7 separate regions of the Homo sapiens genome follow, and all the other regions are linked to region 6. The links are contacts of gene promoters, found by promoter capture Hi-C in blood cells and fetal thymus (Javierre and others, 2016). All regions are on one chromosome and are shown on one strand. The core of a region is centred on a gene start or on the middle of the fragment in contact, and the rest is flanking DNA. Distances in the headings are between cores, read along the strand shown.

Region 1 (2,791 bases), core at 136-2,635, 380 kb after region 6:
GGCTCACTGCAAGCTGCACCTCCCGGCTTCACGCCATTCTCCTGCCTCAGCCTCCCAAGTAGCTGGGACTACAGGCACCCGCCATCACCTCCAGCTAATTTTTTGTATTTTTAGTAGAGACAGGGTTTCACCGTGTTAGCCAGGATGGTCTCGATCTCCTGACGTTGTGATCCGCCCACCTCAGCCTTCCAAAGTGCTGGGATTACAGGCATGAGCCACCACGCCTGGCTGTCCCTTTGCCTTTCTGAAGCTGTTATGAGTATTATACATAGAGCTTGTGAGGCAGGCCTGCTAGACACCTTTTCTGTAATGGTTAAAGAAAAGGAAAACAAAAGGAAAAGGCAGAAGAGGATTAAGGTTGCTGGTGACCACTGTTTAGGGCAGAGTGACTGCTTAAATTCTTAAAAATACAACTATTGGATGATATTGCCATTTTGCACATTCTGTCCCCTGGAAGGGCTCTCCTACCTCTTCTTCCAGGAGTAAAACCCTCTGACAAAAGCTCAAAGGTTTAGGAGCCTTCAGGGTCCTAGGAGACTGTAGCTTTCAGGGCTCCGTGGTGACACAGTGAACTCTGCATCTGGCTCTCTCCCTGTTCCCTTCTCCCCTCCTCCTGCTCTTCCTCCATCAGGGAGTGAACAGGCATTCCTACTTAGAGGATTCTGCGTGGCTGGAAGAGAAGTGGGGAGGGGCTGCTCAAAACAAGCCAGCCAAGGAGCAAGGCAGTCTGAGGGAATCCAGCCTCTGGGACCGGCTGCTGGGGGAGAGCGGGAATGCTGCTCTGCCTGTTTCTAAAAGAGACAGCCAAACACCATTTATGACTTGTATGATGGGCTTGTATAGTACTAGAAATATTAAATCTGCACTTCTCCCTCCTGGAACTCAATATACAACCCGTGGTAGTGGGACTGGGTGTTAACAAATAGAATAATCTTTGTTTATGTGGGACCCTTCCTATAGTCTCTTTTCTGAAATGTCATTTGTGGGGAGGGCTGAGGGTGGGAGAGGGATAAGAGATGTGAGCCTCATTTTCTCACTGTTATTTCCACAGCAACAGGAACAGGACCCCACAAATTTATACATCTCAAACCTCCCACTGTCAATGGATGAGCAGGAACTGGAGGGGATGCTGAAGCCCTTTGGCCAGGTTATCTCCACCCGTATCCTTCGAGATACCAGTGGGACCAGCAGAGGTGTTGGCTTTGCAAGGTGAGGATGGCAGGAGTGGGGAAATGATGAGGTTAATAACAAATGTCACTTGGGGGTCACCAGAAAACAAAATCTATGCCTTTCCCACACAAGGTCAAAATACTTTACTATTATTCAAAAATACTTGATGGTAAGTCAAAAGTTCATTTTAGGCCAGGTGCGGTGGCTTACACCTGTAATCCCAGCACTTTAGGAGGCCAAGGCAGGCATATCACCTGAGGTCAGGAGTTTGAGACCAGCCTGGCAAACATGGTGAAACCCCGTCTCTACTAAAAATACAAAAATTAGCCAGACGTGGTGGCGCATGCCTGTAATCCCAGCTACTCAGGAGGCTGAGGCAGGAGAATTGCTTGAACCTGGGAGGCAGAGGTTGCAGTGAGCTGAGATCGCACCACTGCACTGCAGCCTGGGGAACAGAGTGAGACTCTGTCTCAAAAAAAAAAAAAAAAAAAAGGTTCATTTTATTATAGGTTACAATACTCAAAAACCCATTAGCCCCACCTAAATATTTTTTTTATAAAGATGGGGTCTTGCTGTGTTGCCCAGGCTGCTCTTGAACATCTGGGCTCAAGTGATCCTCCTGCCTCAGCCACCTAAGCAGTTGGGATTACAGGCATGAGCCACCACACTCGGCTAAGCTCCCTACTACTTCCTAGGGAAGTACTCTAGGCTTTGTTCCTTTAATCCAGACCCAACCAGAGTAAAAAATTCTGTATATTCTTATAGTTTACTGAGTATTTCTCATCTTGTCTCATTTAATCTTTACAACATCCCTGTGAGATAAATATTCTCTATCTTACAGATGAGGAAAGTGAACTCTTCAGTAGAAATGATTTGCCCAGGGTCTTACAGGAGTGGGTGTTAGAGCAGAGCCCTGATCCTTCTGGCTTTGAGAGCAGTAGGATGAGGTAGAAGTTTTGATCTTCCTTTTCAGATCTGTTGGGAGACCTGTATTCCAGAACAATTCTGCACCTGTGATATCAGAGCTTGTGAGCCTTGGTTCACTCTCTGAAGTGGAGATTGATTCAGATGAGTAATTTTCCCACAGTATTCCCTATACCTGCAGTTTTCCCAGGTGCCCTTCTTTGGGCTTTGGTATCTGCCCTCACTGTCGTAGGGTATCAGCCTCCCTTAGCCCACTTAAGAAATGGCTCTGCTTTTATTTATTTTAAGATTTTATTTGAAAGGAGATTCTTTTGACTTTTTTTTTTTTTTTTAGTTTCAAAATGACTGGACTAAGTGAGCCAAGCACCCCTTTTTGCTTTATATCTTGTCTGGTCCGTGAACACCCCCTTACTCTGAGTGTTTCAGACCTTGGGAACAAGAAATAGTTTCTCTTGGCTGGGCGTGGTGGCTCACGCCTGTAATCCCAGCACTTTGGGAGGCTGAGGCGGGTGGATCACCTGAGGTCAGGAGTTTGAGACCAGCCTGGCCAACCTGGTGAAACCCCGTCTCTACTAAAAATACAAAAATTAGCTGGGTATGGTGGCGGGCTCCTGTAGTCCCAGCTACTCGGGAGGCTGAGGCAGGAGAATCACTTGAACCCGGGAGGCGGAGGTTGCAGTAAGCCGAGATCGCGCCA
Region 2 (2,700 bases), core at 69-2,568, 390 kb before region 6:
ATTTCCAGATGTGAAAAAAAATCAAGTGTGCACAGTGTGTGTATACGTGTATCTATATATACACATACATACATATACACATGTACAGACCCCATATATAAAATCTTCCAAAAGTATGTACTGTTCTAAAAACCTCAGTAAAGTCAGATCTGAGAATGGATACAAAGAGTACTTAATTCTTAATTGATATACTCCACTATGTACTGACTTTTTACTTGTAAATACACTGCCTTTTATAATTAAATGCACTAACACAACTATGAGGAACAAAAATGTTCAAAGTTTAGGACTCAACGGCTCTTAATGTACTATAGTACAAAATGGCCAGACATTTGTGGAAAAAGCCCCAAATTAAAGATGTTTAGGATCACCCTTGTGGAACAGTTTAAACAAATCAAGATCTACTTTCCATTCTAGCACTTTGTCCTCCCATCCTCCACTGTAAATCAGAAAGCAAGAGAGAACAGAGTGCTACTTCAGAAACATAACCTCTACCCAACACCCTCCTCCCTTACAAAACTCCTTTATATAGAGTGTCACACTTTTTTTTTTTTTTTTCCCGAGACAGCTGTGGCTCCCAGGCTGGAGTGCAGTGCCACAGTCTCGGCTCACTGCAACCTCCACCTCCCAGGTTCAAGCAATTCTCCTGCCTCAGCCTCCCAAGTAGCTGGAATTACAGGTGCCCTCCACCACGCCCAACTAATTTTTGTATTTTTAGAAGAGACAGGGTTTCACCATCTTGGCCAGGCTGGTCTTGAACTCCTGACCTCGTAATCCACCCACCTCGGCCTCCCAAAGTGCTGGGATTACAAGTGTGTGCCACCGTGCCTGGCCTCAGTTTTACACTTTTCCAGAAAAGTGCAAAACTCTTATGAACAGTTAACAGAATGGGCCGGGCACGGTGGCTCACACCTGTAATCCCAGCACTTTGGGACGCCAAGGCAGACGGATCATTTGAGGTCAGGAGTTCAAAACCAGCCTGGCCAACATGGTAAAACCCTGTCTCTACTAAAAATACAAAAATCAGTCGGGCAGTAGTGGCACACACCTATAATCCCAGCTACTCGGGAGGCTGAGGCAGGAGAATTGCTTGAGCCTGGGAAGCAGAAGTTACGGTGAGCCAAGATCACGCCACTGCACTCCAGTCTGGGCAACAGAGTGAGATCCTGTCTCAAAAAAAAAAAAGTTAACAGAGTTTACACAGTTTTACACTGCATACAGAATTGTACAGATTCTCTATAGAGTAACAGAATAATCTATTATGGTGACCCTACAAAAGAACAACAAAGGCTAGGAGAATTAAACTATGTCTGGTCTTGAAGTCACCTGGTCCTCATTACCTATTACATAACTCAGAGACAATTTGCTTTACTTCACTGGGACCAAGTACTTTGAAGTAGTCCCTTCTAAAAAACAAAAAAATGACCTAATCAGAAAGGAAAAGGCCAATGGGAACATGTAAGAGGTAAACAAAGTTAAACATTAAATACATTAAGAAAAGAGCTGCCTGCTCTGTACTCAGATTATAAAAAAGGGATAATTACACATCAACAGTTTTTTCAGGGGGTTCTTCCTCTTTGACAGGGAGCTCAATGGGCTTTGTTTCTTCTTCCTAAAACCAAATGAAACAAGGTGGTTAACATAAATCTAAAGAATAAATATCTATCAAAAGAAGAACATCAGAACTCCAAAATAAACCAGTCTCTCAGAACCTTCATACCCATCTTATGCTCCCCTAATAAATTTACATCTAAGTCCTCCAATGACTGATGTTAAAGCAATGTGGCCAAAGCAGTGGCACATTACCAGAGACTAACCTTACTCTATCCAACTCACCTCTGTTTCATCTCCCAGTACATCTTCTTCATTTGCCTCCTCTTCAGCTAAAGAATATTAAAATATTCAGGTCAAGCCCTGCTACAAAACCATCTTGATCACTTACCAAGGTTAAAATTATAATCACTTTGCTTTCCCCCAAAAAATCCAACAGTGAAGGCAGAAACTGATGCACATAAAATCTGCTACATCTGGAGAAGATAAAACCAGATTTCTACCTAACATTAATTACAAATGTGAACTCCAGTTGGACTGAAGAACTAAATGTGAAGTCAAACTAGAGAATTAATTTTAAAAGTAATGTTGGGCCAGGCACCGTGGCTCTCTGTAATCCCAGCAATCTGGGAGGCAGAGGCAGGTGGATCGTTTGAACCTAGGAGTTCAAGCGACCAGCTTGGGGAACACAGCGAAACCCCGTCTTTACAAAAAACATAAAAAAATTAGCTGGGTGTGGGGGTGTGCGCCTATAGTCTTAGCTACTGGGGAGGCTGAAGTGGGAACATTACTTGAACCCAGAAGGCAGAGGCTGCAGTGAGCTGAGATCATGTCACTGCACTCCAGCCTGGGTGACAGAGCAAGACCCAGTCTTGAATAACAAACAAAAAAAGTATGTGGAAAAGTATCTTTGAGATTTAGTGGTGGGGAAAGATTTGTTTAAAAGAAAAACAACCCAGAACCAAAAGTAAGAGGTGAAAAATTGAAGATTTTTCAAAACTAAGTACTTCTACTTAAGGATAGCACAAAGAAACTTAAAAGACAAATGACAAGACATTTGTTTTTGTTGAGACAGAGTCTTACTCTGTCGCCCAGATAAAGTGCAATGGCACAATCACAGCTCCCTGCAGCCTCCCCCTCCTGGGCTCA
Region 3 (2,733 bases), core at 118-2,617, 310 kb after region 6:
AGTGAGGAGAGACAGGAGGGTCTGGCCGCAATGGCTGTTGATATGTTTCAGCTGAGTTTTGCTGATTGGGGAGATAAGTACATTTAGGTCAGTTAAAAGATCATCATAAAGCGGCAATGGGGGTGCAGTGGCCTCTGGCGTAGGTGGCGGTGGCGCAGGCATGTCAGAGTGGAAGTCCTCCTTTGAAATTACGTTCTCAATTTGTGCAGTATCATCAGGGGAAAGAGAGCTGAGAGCTTCCTCGACCTCCTCAGAGGAGAGGAAAGAGGGATCAGTCTCCATATTGTCCTCCTGAGTCTATAAGGAGTCTAAGACAGAGCGAACCGAAGCCCAGATTGACCAAATGGTGGGTGGGATAAAATGTCCCCCTTTATGAGCAATTTTGAATTGTTTGCCAATCTCATCCCAATCTTTAAGTTCTGGAGTTCCCTGAGTCGGAAACCAAGGGCAAAGAAGATCTACAACCTCAAATAGTTCAATTAACTTTTCAGTAGAAACTTTAACACCTCCTTCTTTAAGAAGAGTTTTTATAAAATTTAAATAAGCCGAATACTTTGTACTGGCCTGTCCCATGGTGTCCCCGGAAAACTCTGAGTGCTCAAGCTTACCACCAAGTTTATTGACTGCAATCCTCAGGAATCTCTCGTTGAACTCCTCCGCTGATCCCGCACTCAGGGCGCAACTTCACACAGCGAGGGAGAGCCCCACGTCGGAGCGCCAGATGTAGGGACCAGCCCCACAGGGTCGGTAGGTCTCTCCCTGTGTGCGGCGATGAGAGAGTGTAGAAATAAAGACACAAGACAAAGAGACAAGAGAAAAGGCAGCTGGGCCCGGGGGACCACTACCACCAATGCGCAGACACCGGTAGTGGCCCCGAATGTCTGGCTGCGCTGTTATTTATTGGATACAAGGCAGAAGGGGCAGGGTAAAGAATGTGAGTCACCTCCAATGATAGGTAAGGTCACGTGGGTCACGTGTCCACTGGACAGGGGGCCCTTCCCTGCCTGGCAGCTGAGGCAGAGAGGGAGAGGAGACAGAGAGAGAGACAGCTTACATCATTATTTCTGCATATCAGGGACTATTAGTATTTTCACTAATTTACTACTGCTATCTGGAAGGCAGAGCCAGGTGTACAGGATGGAACATGAAGGCAGACTAGGAGTGCGACTACTGAAGCACAGCATCACAGGGAGACGGTTAGGCCTCCCGATAACTTCGGGCAAGCCTGACTGATGTCAGGCCCTCCACAAGAGGTGGAGGAGCAGAGTCTTCTCTAAACTCCCCTGGGGAAAGGGAGACCCCCCCCCCCGCCCCGCCCTTTCCCGGTCTGCTAAGTAGCGGGTGTTGTTCCTTGACACCTTTTGCTACCGCTGGACCACGATCCTCCTGATAACGGGCGTCTTCCCAGACGCTGGCGTCACCGCTAGACCAAGGAGCCCTCTGGTGGCCCTGTCCGGGCATAACAGAAGGCTCGCACTCTTGTCTTCTGGTCACACCTCACTATGTCCCCTCAGCTCCTATCTCTGTATGGCGTGGTTTTTCCTAGGCTATGATTATAGAGCGAGGATTATCATAATATTGGAATAAAAATTGCTACAAACTAATGATTAATGATATTCATATACAATCATATCTAAGATCTATATCTGGTATAACTATTCTTGTTTTATATTCTATTATACTGGAACAGCTCGTGTCCTCTGTCTCTTGCCTCGGTGCCTGGGTGGCTTGCTGTCCACAATTTGAGATGGTGTCTTGCTCTGTTGCCCAGGCTGGAGTGCAGTGGCACCATCTTGTCTTCTTGCAACCTCTACCTCCTGAGTTCAAGCAATTCTCCTGCCTCAGCCTCCTGAGTAGCTGGGACTATAGGCATGAGCCACCACACCCGGTTAACTTTTGTATTTTTAGTGGGGACAGAGTTTCACCATGTTGACCAGGCTGGTCTCGAACTCCTGACCTCAAGTGATCCACCCACCTCAGCTTCCCAAAGTACTGGAATCACAGGCTTGAGCCACCACACCCAGCCCCAGCTTGTATATGAATACTGTCCTCTTTCTGTTCCAACAGTATTCCAATTTGGGTAATATATGTTTTATGGTTACCTTAGTTATTACAGACAGTGCTGCAGTAAATAAGCTTGTATATCTTGTCATTTTGCAAGTTTGCAAATATAACTGTAGGATAAATTTCTAAAAGTATAATTGATGTGTCAAAGAGTATATATATTTGTAATTTTTAAAGATGTTGACAAATTGCCGTCCATACTGGTCATGCCATTTTTCAGTTTTACCAGCAATGTAGTAGAGTGCCTGTTTTTCCTCCCTCACTTCAGTTGGTTATCACTTTTTTTTTTTTTGAGATGGAGTCTCTCTCTGTTGCCCAGGCTGGAGTGCAGTGACACGATCTTAGCTCACTGCAACCTCTATTTCCCGGGTTCAAGTTATTCTCCTGCCTCAGCCTCCCAAGTAGCTGAGATTACAGGTATGTATCACCACACCCGGCTAACTTTTTTTTTGTATTTTTAGTAGAGATGGGGTTTCGCCATGTTGACCAGGCTGGTCTCGAACTCCTGACCTCAGGTGCTCCGCCTGCCTCGGCCTCCCAAAGTGCTGGGATTACAGGCGTGAGCCACCGTGGCTGGCCGGTTATCACTTTTTTTGTGTGCTTGCCATGCCAGTAGGTGTAATATGCTATTTCAGTATTGTATTTTTATTTTTATTTATTTATTTTTTT
Region 4 (2,808 bases), core at 132-2,631, 330 kb after region 6:
TGGCTAGGGTCCAGCACATCTACAGGTAATACATTCTTCTGAATTCTCCACTCTGATATGGAGGGGCCAATAGAGGCATGCAAACATTTTTCTTTATTTTTCTTTTTCTTTTATTTTGAGACAGGATCTCACTTTGGTTGCCTGGGCTGGAGTACAGTGGCGCCATCTCAGCTCACTGCAGCCTCGACCTCCCAGGCTCAGATGGCTCTCCCAACTCAGCCTCCTGAGGAGTTGGGACTACAGATATGCACTACCATGCCTGGCTAGTTTTTTGTATTTTTAGCAGAAATGGGGTTTTGCCATGTTGCCCACATTGGTCTTGAACTCCTGGACTGAAGCAATCTGCCCACCTCAGCCTCCCAAAGTGCTGGGACATTTTTCAGCTACATTTTGGGGTTGACCTAGCCCCTACTCCTTCACCTTGGACACTTGTTTAAAAGAGTTGTTTTTCTGGAGAAATCACAAACAAGCCTATATTGAATCAGGTACAAATGTCTCTTCCCCAAAGAAGTTACAGATAACTCTCATTTTGCTTTTTTCCCTTCAAAACAATTCCTGAGTGCTGGGTTCATGAGAACCAAGAATTAGAGAGGCATTGACTAAATCTGGAAAAATGTGGGCAATGTAATGGGCAAAGCAGAAGGGCGTCAAAGTAAATACACTGGAGGAAGTAGGATTCTTCCTCCTCCCGTATACTTCCTGAATCTAACCACAGAACACCATTACCTTCCCCATCATTTCCACAGAATTCCATAACTCCTTTACAAATATACTCACCTGTAATGCCAGCAGTTTTGGAGACTGAGGTGGGCAAATTGCTTGAGCTGAGGAATTCAAGACCAGCCTGGGCAACATGATGAAACCCCGTCTCTACCAAAAAAAAAAAAATTACAAAAGTTAGCCAGGTGTGGTGGTGCATGCCTGTAGTCCCAGCTACAGGGTGGGGAGGGGTGGGATGGGTGTGAGGATCACCTGAACCTGGGGAAGTCAAAGCTGCCTGTTGTGAGCCGTGATTGTGCTACTGCACTCCAGCCTAGGTGACAGAGTGAGACCCTGTCATAAAAAAAAATATATGTTTATAATACATATACTCACCAGAATGAAGGATTTAGTTTCCAGTTTTGTTGGTGCTCTTTAACATAATACACCTTTGGCATCAGTTTGCATATCCGGGTCATTTTACTTCTGTGGTCCTAATTTACCAGATTATAAAAATTTAGATTTTTCGGTCGGGTGCCGTGGTTCACACCTGTAATCCCAGCACTTTGGGAGGCCAAGGCGGGTGGATTGCCTGAGGTCAGGAGTTCGAGACCAGACTGGCCAACATGGTGAAACCCCGTCTCCACTAAAAATACAAAAATTAGCTGGGCGTCGTGGCACATGCCTGTAGTACCAGCTACTCAGGAGGCTAAGGCGGGAGAATCGTTTGAACCCGGGAGGCAGAGGTTTCAGTGAGCCAAGATTGCACCACTGCACTCCAGCCTGGCGACAGAGTGAGACTCTGTCTCAGGGGGAAAAAAAAAAAGTAGAAAGAAAAATTAGACTTAAAAAAAAAGTTAAATTGGGTTGATTGCCTTTATGAATCAGGCCTTCAAGAGAAAGGTTTCTGTACCACATTGTTAGGGTAAAGGAGAAGATATCATCCAAGGGCCTAAACAGCAAGGATAAATTGGTTAATGAGAGTCTCTGAGAGCAGAAAAAGGACTTAAAAAAATATATATATATATATATATGGGCCGGGCGCGGTGGCTCACTCCTGTAATCCCAGCACTTTGGGAGGCCAAGGCGGGCAGATCACCTGAGGTCGGGAGTTTGAGACCAGTCTGGCCAACAAGACTACTAAAAATACAAAAAAATTAGCCGGGCATGGTGGCGCATGCCTATAGTCTCAGCTACTCGGGAGGCTGAGGCAGGAGAATCGCTTGAACCCGGGACGCAGAGGTTGCGGTGAGCCAAGATAGCACCACTGCACTCTAGCCTGGGCAACAGAGCAAGACTCTGTCTCAGAAAAAAAAAAAGATATCACTGAGTGATGCCTTCATTTATTTATTTACTGCATTTGGCTGCTGTGTTTCCAGTCTCAGTTGCAATTCCCACACTGAGGCTCTCCCACCCTTCCTGTGTCCCCTGAGCTGAGCAGGCACTTCCTGTCCTATTGGAAATGAAAGTTAGAGATTGGGGGTAGGGTATGTATATTTACTCTGCAGAATACTAATACTGTCTGTTCCATTATCATAGCAAAAAAGTGACACGGAAACTAGAATAGAGACCAGAACTTCATTTGAGGGAGGGTTTGGGCTTAATATTTGTTGTCACAAAACAGACAGGGTTAATTTATATCTCAAGAAACTACTTAGGATGGCAGCAAGGTGGCCTTATGAAGGGATTTGAAGGCTTTCATTTAACATCCCTATTGCACTTGGATTGGTAGGGGTTACTGGATATCATTCTTAAGTTTTTGGTTTCCTTTCTTGTTAAGGTTACGCCTACAAAGACATTCTTTGGAAACTAGTAGAGGTAAGTGTTGCAACTCTATTAGGTTCTTGACTCTGAAATTTGTATTCCTTCCTAAGAATTTTGTGTTTTTATTCTGTTGAAGCATATGCTTCTTAAGTATTTTTTTTTTTTAAACAGCTCAAAGACAACTCAAAGCAGACATCCCAACTGTAGACTTCAATTTAGACATAAACTCCAGGTTTGGTGAGTTACTGTAATTGTTTCAGTTTCATGGATCTTAAAGATGAGGAAATAGCAGGGTAAAGTGTTAAATAAGATAGCCTGCAATTGTTAGAGAAATAACAAGGCACC
Region 5 (2,700 bases), core at 74-2,573, 360 kb before region 6:
TGGCAGTTGCAAGCAGATGGAATGGAAAGAAAAGAGTTCCCATCCTTCTGGTTCCCAGTCTCGTTTTCTTTTGAGAGTTCCTGGTCCACTCCTGATTCTTCTTCTGAAGACGTCTCACTCTGATCAGGGTCCTCTGCATCTCTAGGTGGTCCTGGACCCCCTGGGGGGCCATGGCTTGGGTCCAACCAATGGGCTGGGTTTGGGTGCTGTGTGTGCTTAGGACCAGAGTGCTCTGTGAGGCAGCGGGTACCATTAGGAGCAGTCCCTGCTGAGTCCCTGAGTCCTGAGAATGAAGGTATTTCAGGGTCCACGGAGGGTCCTAAAGTCCTGAGGGAGGCACCACCACTGTGGTGGGCTCCATACAACCCTCTTTCTCCGGGGTGCTTCTGGGCCATGACCCCGGGGCTTCCTGAGGGTCTTAGGTCACAGCCATCATGGTGTGTTCTGATGCCTGTAACAGATATCAAGGTGGAGACAGTCAAGGATGAGACCAAGAGAGGAATTAAACAATCTCAAATAGTGGACACATTTAATTCATCCACCTCCCTTGTTTTCCCAAGTTCTTTTGGGGCATTCGCTATTCCTAGCAATAAGCCAAAACTAGACTCACCACAACCCTGCTTGCTCCCTCCCCTCTCCTCCAAATCACTTAAGTTTTTCTTCTTTCCCCAGAAAACTATAACCTTCAATCAGGGAAACAGGGAGGTACCGTAAAGGGTGTGGTCGGGGGAGGGTGGGTCACTCTTAGGAAAATGGGAAAGACCGCCGGAAAGGGGGCCACAGACTTCCAGTAATGGGTGGGGGCCATGCGGCCCTGGAGGAAAATCTGGGGGCGGAGCTTAGGGCTGCCCCTAAGAAAGACTAACAGGGAACCCACCGGCTGTGTAGAAGGGACGAAGGTGGCCGGGCACCGTGGCTCACGCCTGTAATCCCAGCACTTTGGGAGGCCGAGGCCGGCGGATCACGAGGTCAGGAGTTCGAGACCAGCCTGGCCAACATGGTGAAACTCCGTCTCTACTAAAAATACAGAAATTCGCCAGGCGTGGTGGCGCGCACCTGTAGTCCCAGCTACTCGGGAGGCTGAGGCAGAAGAATCGCTTGAACCCGGGAGGTGGAGGTTGCAGTGAACCGAGATCGTGCCACTGTACTCCAGTCTGGGTGACAGAGCGAGACTCCATCTCAAAAAAACAAAAAAAAACGAAAAAAAAAAAAAAGACGGACGTACCGAAGAACGGCGGTAACTCCTCCCCCTCGAGCCGCCCGGCCTGGGGCCAGGGTGAGCTACGAGAGCCGCTCTCCCGGCTCCGCCTCCCGCTCACGCTCTGCTTCCGCCTTCCGTCCCCGCGGCCGCCGGCGACCTGGGCCTACTTCCACTTCCGGGGTCACCAGGGAAGAGACGGGAAGGAAAAGAAATAGCGGTTGGCTGAGAGGCAAGCCAATCCAGCTAGGGCTGCGTCGACTCCAAGGAGGCGGTCCTAAGGAAGTACTGGCCCCGCCATTTAAAGGCCCCTCCCTCCGCGTGTGGGAATGGGATTCCCGCAGGTTGCACCGCAGGAAGCAAGGCAGGTGGACTCTGCACCAATGCCTGCAGACTAAGGGCAGACTCTCAGGATTGCTCTGGGTGTATTCCTAGGCTTTGTATTCCTGGGAGATGGAGGGCAGCCACCGAGCCACATATAGTCTTTTTCCCTTGCAGACAAAACCAGGGAGCTCAGAAGAGTCACTGCCCTGATCCCTTCCGTGCCGGCAGCTGCGAGGACACAGGCCCCTTTGTATCCTGCGGTGCGGAGGTGGAGCAGAGGAGAGGGTGCCCCGGCTGGCCCCCTCCCTCGCCCCGCAGCACTGCCCCTCCTTTCACAGCAACCCACGGCCTCCCCCGCGCTTGACCCAGCTGGCGAGCTGCCCCTTATACCTGGATCCGCCCCTCGGGTCGCAGCTCCCCAGGCCCGATCACCGAGCGGTGCCTAGGAACTGGGAGCGTAACTTGGCTCGGCTCAGAACTTTGCCCGTGAGCCAAAGAACACTGAACTCATCTACCTGCTGCTTGACATCTCATCTGCATACCAAGCTATTTGGTGGACGTCCACAAGCGCCCCCGCCCCCACGTAGACCCAGTTGGGTCCCCGTTCCGTCGGTCCCCTCCTCTGCACACGCCTCTAGCCTTATACCCCGTCTTGATCCGAAAGTTTTTCCACCCATGAACCCCCAGTTGGCGCTCCCCGACCAGCAAAAGCCCCTTCCCTGGTCCACGATCCCGACCACCCGGTTCTCCAGGAGACAATACTCCAATTCTCTGGAAAGTGGAAGAAACCAAGCTGAAGCTAGGGGGGCGCTGGGACCCCTATTGGGGCTTTGAGAGCTTCCGGTTGTCATCTCCTAAGTATTCGGAGACCCTTCTCCAAAACTCTTGGGGTGACCCTCAAGACTCTTACCTGCTATATAGTTGGGGGTCTCTGGTCCTGGACTAGAGCAGTAGGCAACCTGGGTCCCCCCACACACACGGGAAAGAATTGGAGGGGCCTGCCTTGTGATGTCACCCCTCCTCCCCCCACCGCGCGCACGCGCGCGCGCACACACACAAACACAAACACACACCCCAACACACACGCCCTGTCCCCTTTCTCCACCCTGCAAGCTAGTTGCATTTAGCTCACAGAGCCTGGGCTGCGACTTGAAAGAGTTTAGGCAGCAACAGAGTGA
Region 6 (2,889 bases), core at 87-2,586:
TGGAAGCTGAACCAGGTCACAACTGTCAATTCCCCCAAGGCCGGAGGCTAAGCCCCTAGCCTGATCTCCCTGCAAAAGGTCAAAGGTAGAAGCCTGGGAATAAGAGCCTCTCACAGGCGTAGAGACATGCCATAGAAATAGCAGCTATTTGTCAGGATTCTCACACCCAGAGAGACCCCAAGGGCAGGGCCAGGCTCACAACCAGCATCAGTAGGAAGTTCTCCTAAGCCACTAAGCACACTTCTGACGAGCTGCAAAGCCGGCAGGAAGAACTGGGGAGCTGAAAGAAAGCCATAAAGAGAATCCCTCTCTGAGGGTAGTGAGAAAAAGAGAGGCAGACCATTTCCAGAGAAAACCAGGCCTAGAGACAAAGACGACACCAGGAAGAGGTTTGGTAGAAAAGACAGGTAAGGATTCTTGAACCTTTTGTTCACCACCTTATGATCTCCAGTTATGGGGTTTGGGTGTGAGGGGCTAGAGATAGGAAGCTCACCCTAACCTCTCGACCCCAAACCCAGGGTACTGCAAAGCTAGGTTGCAAGGTGACTTCATTGTAAAATCGAGGAAAGGTTTCGGAAGGGGCCGCTACCCAGGAACTCCTATACCCCGGCTCCCTGAGAGATTCTGTTGCCCCTTAGATGAAGGTGGGGGATGAGCGGCGGAGACAGGTGATCCCTGGGTGGAGACCTTTTTCAGGCTGATGAGCAGCCAACGGCTTGCTCTGTGACTGTTTACCCTCCTGCTTTCCATTCTCTCTCTCTGAACATACACAAAGCACCGGAGAGGCCTCAGCCCCGCTGGTACCTGGCTCCGTGGGGAGCTCTGGCGGGCACGCTCCGGGTTGCGGGGGAGCCCATTGGGCACCCGGTCCACACCCGGCCGGCCGCCTCTCCCAGAAAAGCCAGGAGGGCGATGGCTGAGGGGAAGGTGGGCTAATGGCACCGGGGCCCGCCGGGCAGTAGAGAAAAACAAGGGGCAGAGGGCGCAGCAGTGGGGGCGGGGGCTGGGCTCAGAGGCTGGGGGTGCGGGGAGAGGGAGGCTGGGGGAGGGGCGCGGGAGCGCAGGAGGGCGCGCGGGGGGCTGCTTGGGAGGCCGCGGGGGAGGGGCTGGGGCGCCTGGAGGGTAGGCAGGATCCCGGGGCTGCAGGGCCGCGGTCCCTTTGTCCCGCCCCCGGTCCCCGCGCGGCCCGGCCCGGCCCGCGTACCTTCTTGTAGTTCTTGCCGAGCCACAGCCGCACGTTGTCGAACTGGGTCACGGTGTCCGCGGCCTCGTAGTACTTCACGTTGGGGCCGCCGTCCTTCTTCCGCACCGCCATCTTCTCCGGCTCGGGCCCCGCCGCCGCCCGCCCCACTCAGCTCAGCTCCCGCCTCCTCCGCCTCCTCCTCCGCCCGCCTCCCGCCGCCTCCCGCCGCCGCGGCCGCCGCCTCCCGCCGCCTGGGCCGGCCCCGGTCCGCGCTGCGCCCCCTGCCGGCAGGCCGGGCGCGGCGGCGGAGCTCCAGGCGCGGGCCGACCCTGGCGGCCTCCCCGGCAGCGGAGGCGGGAGCCTCCGGGGAGAAGGACGCTTCCTGGAGGGGGCGCCATTCTCCTGAGATCGCTCTTACCAGACGCGAAGCCCTTTCCCTCTTTTTGCCTCAGCTCGGGAGTGTCACCTCGCTATCCCACTCCAGGCGGCCGCCAGTCGCTGGAGCAGCCCCAACCCGTAGACCCGAGTGGTCCTCACCTTGCGCATTCCTAACCCGACGAAGCCCCTCGTCCCCCAAAACCCCAAACCCCTTTCCCCAAGAAGTTCCTTCCTTCCATCCATTCACAGCAGCTCCCCATTTAAACTTTTCAGAGTCTCCCTCACTCCTCGCGCCTTGTCCACCCAGCACTCCCCTCACTTGTTAACCCAAATGTCCCCTAGTCGCCACCCTGGCGGCCCAGTGCCTTCCCTCAACTGCTTCCTCCGCAGGCCTCGCTGTCGCCTCCTAAGTAGGTGTGAGCTCCTACTCGAGACCCCGACTCTTCGCTAGGCAGGAGACCCTCCCTCCCTGGGTCACCCAGTCCATCCGACTCTTTTTCTTTGGGTGGCGTAGATAGGAGGTAAGGAACCGAGGGGTGGGGAGTCCTCAGGTGTGTGTGTGTCGGGGCCGGTACCCTGCTTCCGGTTCCCGCACGCATTCCCGGATTGCAGTGCGGACCCCTTCTGTAAGCGCGCGATAAAGCGCGGTTTTGGAAGTCACGGTGGCCGAGTGGTTAAGGCGTTGGACTCGAAATCCAATGGGGTTTCCCCGCACAGGTTCGAATCCTGTTCGTGACGGGTTTTTTTTTTTTTTCTTTCTTCTTCTTATTATTAAAAGGGAGTCTCGCTCTGTTGCTCAGGCTGGAGTGCAGTGGCGCGATCTCGGCTCACCGCAACCTCCGCTTCCCGGGTTCAAGCAATTCTCCTGCCTTAGCTTCCCGAGTAGCTGGGACCACAGGCATGCGTCACCATACCTGGCTAATTTTTGTATTTTTAGTAGAGACAGGTTCACCATATTGGCCAGGCTGGTCTCAAACTCCTGACCTCAGGTTATCTGCCCGCCTCGGCCTCCCAAAATGCTGGGATTACAGGCGTCGACTTTTTTAACCCCTTTCACAGCACATAAAGGTAACCCCAGTTCTCACACGTTTCTTTCGTGCACTTTCTCTCTCCAAAAGGGAAGCCGCCAAAAGGTCTTAACCCCTGGATTTGGGAGGATGGGAGTGATCTTGGGAAGTTTAATTATGCACGACTGTATTGGCTGCTAGACTGTGAGGCATTTTCAGAATTTTGTAACTTCAGGCTTCCTGGGAGAGCTTTGGCACATGTCTCATTCTTTTGAGGGCATAGGGAAGGATTTGGTTGAAGGGTTACATTTTGGGAATGTG
Region 7 (2,878 bases), core at 241-2,740, 400 kb after region 6:
TATTAATGAGTGTTTCTGGTTTGGGCATGGGAAGTGATGGGGGCCTGAAGTTATTTTGCAGTGGCTAATGGCACTGAGGAATTTCTTTTTTGGTGCATTTGGTTTACACTCATTTCCTCTCCTAATTGTTAGTTCATTTGTAACAGTGGGTGAGTGTTTGGAGGAAAGGAGGGAGAAGAAAGGAGGGATACTGTTTCTCCCATGAAATAGTCTAATTGGTTGGGTTGATGGCAGAAGGAAACATAGGGGAGCCTTCCAGCTCACAGCCAAGGGTTGGGCTCTTAAACACTATGCCTAGTGTTTTCTGAATGCTGTCTTCATGGAGCCCAGCTCTTACTCTCTTTGTACTTTACATCTCACCCCCACTCATTACAGATGCTCATAACATTCTTAAAATATTTTAGTACTTGGCATTTTTCTGTTTTCAGTCAGCTAGAACACACTAGAGTCCTTTCCTCAGATGGCATAATCCTTTATAGGCTCTGAGCCTGCCTAGCCATCTCCTATCGGTGTTATTACTCCTCATCTCAGGCTCTGAGATGATACTCAGACCCTAAACTGATTGGACTTTTTGGAGGAGGGTGCCAGTAGAGAGGTCAGGAAGATGTGGAGATGATGATGGAGAGAGATGTTTTTATTTTATTTTATTTTTTCAGACAGAGTCTTGCTCTGTCGCCCAGGCTGGAGTGCAATGGCACGATCTCGGCTCACTGCAACCTCCGCCTCCCAGGTTCAAGCAATTCTCCTGCCTCAGCCTCCCATGTAGCTGGGATTACAGGCACCCACCACCATGCCCGGCTAATTTTTTTATTTTTAGTAGAGATGGGGTTTCACCATGTTGGCCAGGCTGGTCTCGAACTCCTGACCTCAGGTGATCTGCCCGCCTTAGCCTCCCAAAGTGCTGGGATTACAGGCGTGAGCCACCGCGCCCGGCCTTTATTTTATTTTTTAGAGATGGTCTTGCTGTGTCACCCAGGCTGGAGTGCAGTGATGCAGTCGTAGTCTACTACAGTCTTGAATTCCTGGGCCCAAGGGTTCTTCCCACCTAAGCCTCCCAAGTAGCTGGAAGTACAGGCACATACTACCAAGCCCAGTTCGTTATTTTAAGTTTTTGTAGAGACAGGGGTCTTACTATGTTGCCCAGACTGGTCTTGAACTCCTGTCAAGTGAGCCTCCCACCTCAGCCTCCCAAAGTGCTATGATTACAGGTGTGAGCCTCCATGCTTGGATGAGATGTTGTTTTTAATGTTTTTGGTTTTTTGGTTTTGTTGTTTTGTTTTTTTGAGACAGGGTCTCACTCTGTGGCCCAGGCTGGAGTGCAGTGGCACCATAATGGCTCACTGCAGCCTCGACCTCCCAAGGCTCAGGTGATCCTCTTGCCTCAGCCACCCCTTCCCCGGCCACCAAGTAGCTGGGACTATGGGCTTGTGCCACCATGCCTGGCTAATTTTTTTATTTTTAGTAGAGATGGGGTTTTACCACGTTGGCCAGGCTAGTGTCCAACTCCTGACCTCCAAACAGCTAATTTTTGTATTTTTAATAGAGACAGGTTTTCGCCATGTTGCCCAGCCTCGTCTCGAACTCCTGGGCTCAAATGATCCACCCACCTCGGCCTCCCAAAGTGCTGGGATTATAGGCATGAGCCACCACACCTGGCCTTTTCAGTTTTTTTATTTTTATTTTTTCTTTGAGACGGAGTCTCGCTCTGTCGCCCAGGCTGGAGTGCAGTGGCGTGATCTTGGCTCACTGAAACCTCCATCTCCTGGGTTCAAGCAGTTCTCCTGCCTCAGCCTCCTGAGTAGCTGGGATTACAGGTGCCTGCCACCATGCCTGGCTAATTTTTGTATTTTTAGTAGAGACAGGGTTTTGCCACATTGCCCAGGCTGGTGTTGAACTCCTGGGCTCAAATGATCCACCTGCCTTGGCCTCCCAAAGTGCTGGGATTACAGGCGTGAGCCACTGCACCCGGCCCTTTGTAGTGTTTTTAACTAAAGAATTTGTAGAGTTGCCCAGGCCAGGAAGCCTGGTGGCTCTAAAGGGTAATAGACCTTGTCAGTAACAGATAAGGAGTGGTAAGAGGACATTACTCATATTGAAGATGAAGACCAGACTTTGCTGCTTCACAGGCCATGCGCTGGGTTGGGCCACTTCAGCTCCACTCCATTCGTTTTCCTTTCCTAACTTGACAATCAGCTCACTCACCCTCCCTTAGTGCCTCCAGTGCCTACTCCTGTCACTCCAATGTCAACCCATTGGGAGTTGAGGCCTGTCACTCCAATGTCAACCCGTGGGCTGTTACTTTGCGTCATATGATGCTGTGAGAGGCCTTGCTGGAATGTCCTAGGAATCCCTAGTAGCAGTGGCTATTAGTCTTCTAGAAAAGAACTATTGCTGCTGCCTTGTGCACATGCCCCACCTTCTGGGCAAGTGGCAGCATTGCGCTCATGAGGGGCTTTGCATTCTTAGCCAAGGGCAATAAACTGGGTGGGTGATCTGGCCCAAACTTGCCCCTAGGCTCTGCTAGCCCTGAATCAGCAGGCTTCAGAGACGAGGGTGGGTGTTATAAAAGCCAGTCTGTAAAGGGTAAATTCCAAATCTTGTGCCTTGTTATACCAATCCTTCCTGATTCCCGTTTAAACCAACTACTCTATTTCTGTGCTGCCTACATTTTCAATCCTCCCACGCATTAGCAAATTCCTGAAATTTCCTCATTTGGTAGGCCTTCCATAGGAGTCAGCTATGGACTTCCATAGGAGTTGGCAGCTAAAACCAGACTGTGAGCTTCTGTCTCCGTTCTGATTTTTGCTGCACCTCCCAGGGGACAGTCCCCACATGATTACAAAAGCCAGGTGCCCTCATCACCCGTTACCCCTGACCT

The links. The method cuts DNA at HindIII sites, captures the fragments that hold promoters and counts their contacts. A CHiCAGO score of 5 or more calls a contact.
Region 1: a fragment that was not itself captured here is called in contact with the fragment with the promoter of SMARCC2 in region 6 in 5 of 17 cell types (erythroblasts, activated CD4 T cells, total B cells and 2 more); the score reaches 6.8 in erythroblasts.
Region 2: a contact is called between a fragment that was not itself captured here and the fragment with the promoter of SMARCC2 in region 6, in 5 of 17 cell types (total CD4 T cells, naive CD8 T cells, non-activated CD4 T cells and 2 more). The highest score is 8.1, in total CD4 T cells.
Region 3: a contact is called between a fragment that was not itself captured here and the fragment with the promoter of SMARCC2 in region 6, in 12 of 17 cell types (naive B cells, total CD8 T cells, naive CD8 T cells and 9 more). The highest score is 13.9, in naive B cells.
Region 4: a fragment that was not itself captured here is called in contact with the fragment with the promoter of SMARCC2 in region 6 in 5 of 17 cell types (naive CD4 T cells, total CD8 T cells, total B cells and 2 more); the score reaches 6.2 in naive CD4 T cells.
Region 5: the fragment with the promoter of DNAJC14 here is called in contact with the fragment with the promoter of SMARCC2 in region 6 in 1 of 17 cell types (naive B cells); the score reaches 5.3 in naive B cells.
Region 7: a fragment that was not itself captured here is called in contact with the fragment with the promoter of SMARCC2 in region 6 in 6 of 17 cell types (naive CD4 T cells, total CD8 T cells, fetal thymus and 3 more); the score reaches 7.4 in naive CD4 T cells.

What each region holds. Positions count from the first base shown.
Region 1 is chr12:56,570,647-56,573,437 of GRCh38, forward strand. RBMS2 (RNA binding motif single stranded interacting protein 2) reads left to right here. Exons shown (of 14, transcript NM_002898.4): 5 at 1,052-1,209. Among named protein-coding and RNA genes, the nearest start is that of RBMS2, 50 kb to the left of the region's middle. The HindIII fragment of the contact is 3,027 bases long and covers 1-2,791 here.
Region 2 is chr12:55,799,018-55,801,717 of GRCh38, forward strand. SARNP (SAP domain containing ribonucleoprotein) reads right to left here. Exons shown (of 11, transcript NM_033082.4): 3 at 1,837-1,883; 4 at 1,545-1,612. Among named protein-coding and RNA genes, the nearest start is that of SARNP, 17 kb to the right of the region's middle. The HindIII fragment of the contact is 8,110 bases long and covers 1-2,700 here.
Region 3 is chr12:56,499,985-56,502,717 of GRCh38, forward strand. No RefSeq gene overlaps it. Among named protein-coding and RNA genes, the nearest start is that of SNORA105C, 12 kb to the right of the region's middle. The HindIII fragment of the contact is 1,533 bases long and covers 602-2,134 here.
Region 4 is chr12:56,518,118-56,520,925 of GRCh38, forward strand. It overlaps a transcript of RBMS2 not described here. Among named protein-coding and RNA genes, the nearest start is that of RBMS2, 2.3 kb to the right of the region's middle. The HindIII fragment of the contact is 4,136 bases long and covers 1-2,808 here.
Region 5 is chr12:55,828,264-55,830,963 of GRCh38, forward strand. DNAJC14 (DnaJ heat shock protein family (Hsp40) member C14) reads right to left here and starts at 1,324. Exons shown (of 7, transcript NM_032364.6): 1 at 1,226-1,324; 2 at 1-451. The coding sequence starts at 395. It also overlaps the pseudogene TMEM198B. RefSeq lists a silencer at 1,262-1,371 and enhancers at 1,900-2,637, 2,592-2,700. The HindIII fragment of the contact is 16,581 bases long and covers 1-2,700 here.
Region 6 is chr12:56,188,147-56,191,035 of GRCh38, forward strand. It overlaps SMARCC2 (SWI/SNF related BAF chromatin remodeling complex subunit C2), which reads right to left and starts at 1,337. Exons shown (of 29, transcript NM_001330288.2): 1 at 1,205-1,337. The coding sequence starts at 1,315. It overlaps TRS-CGA4-1 (tRNA-Ser (anticodon CGA) 4-1), which reads left to right and starts at 2,218; the gene lies at 2,218-2,299. LOC107984468 (a long non-coding RNA gene) reads left to right here and starts at 2,546. Exons shown (of 2, transcript XR_007063330.1): 1 at 2,546-2,889. RefSeq lists silencers at 1,074-1,293, 1,364-1,643 and an enhancer at 1,884-1,983. The HindIII fragment of the contact is 5,408 bases long and covers 1-2,889 here.
Region 7 is chr12:56,591,876-56,594,753 of GRCh38, forward strand. It overlaps RBMS2 (RNA binding motif single stranded interacting protein 2), which reads left to right. Exons shown (of 14, transcript NM_002898.4): 14 at 1-2,878. Among named protein-coding and RNA genes, the nearest start is that of BAZ2A, 37 kb to the right of the region's middle. The HindIII fragment of the contact is 7,914 bases long and covers 1-2,878 here.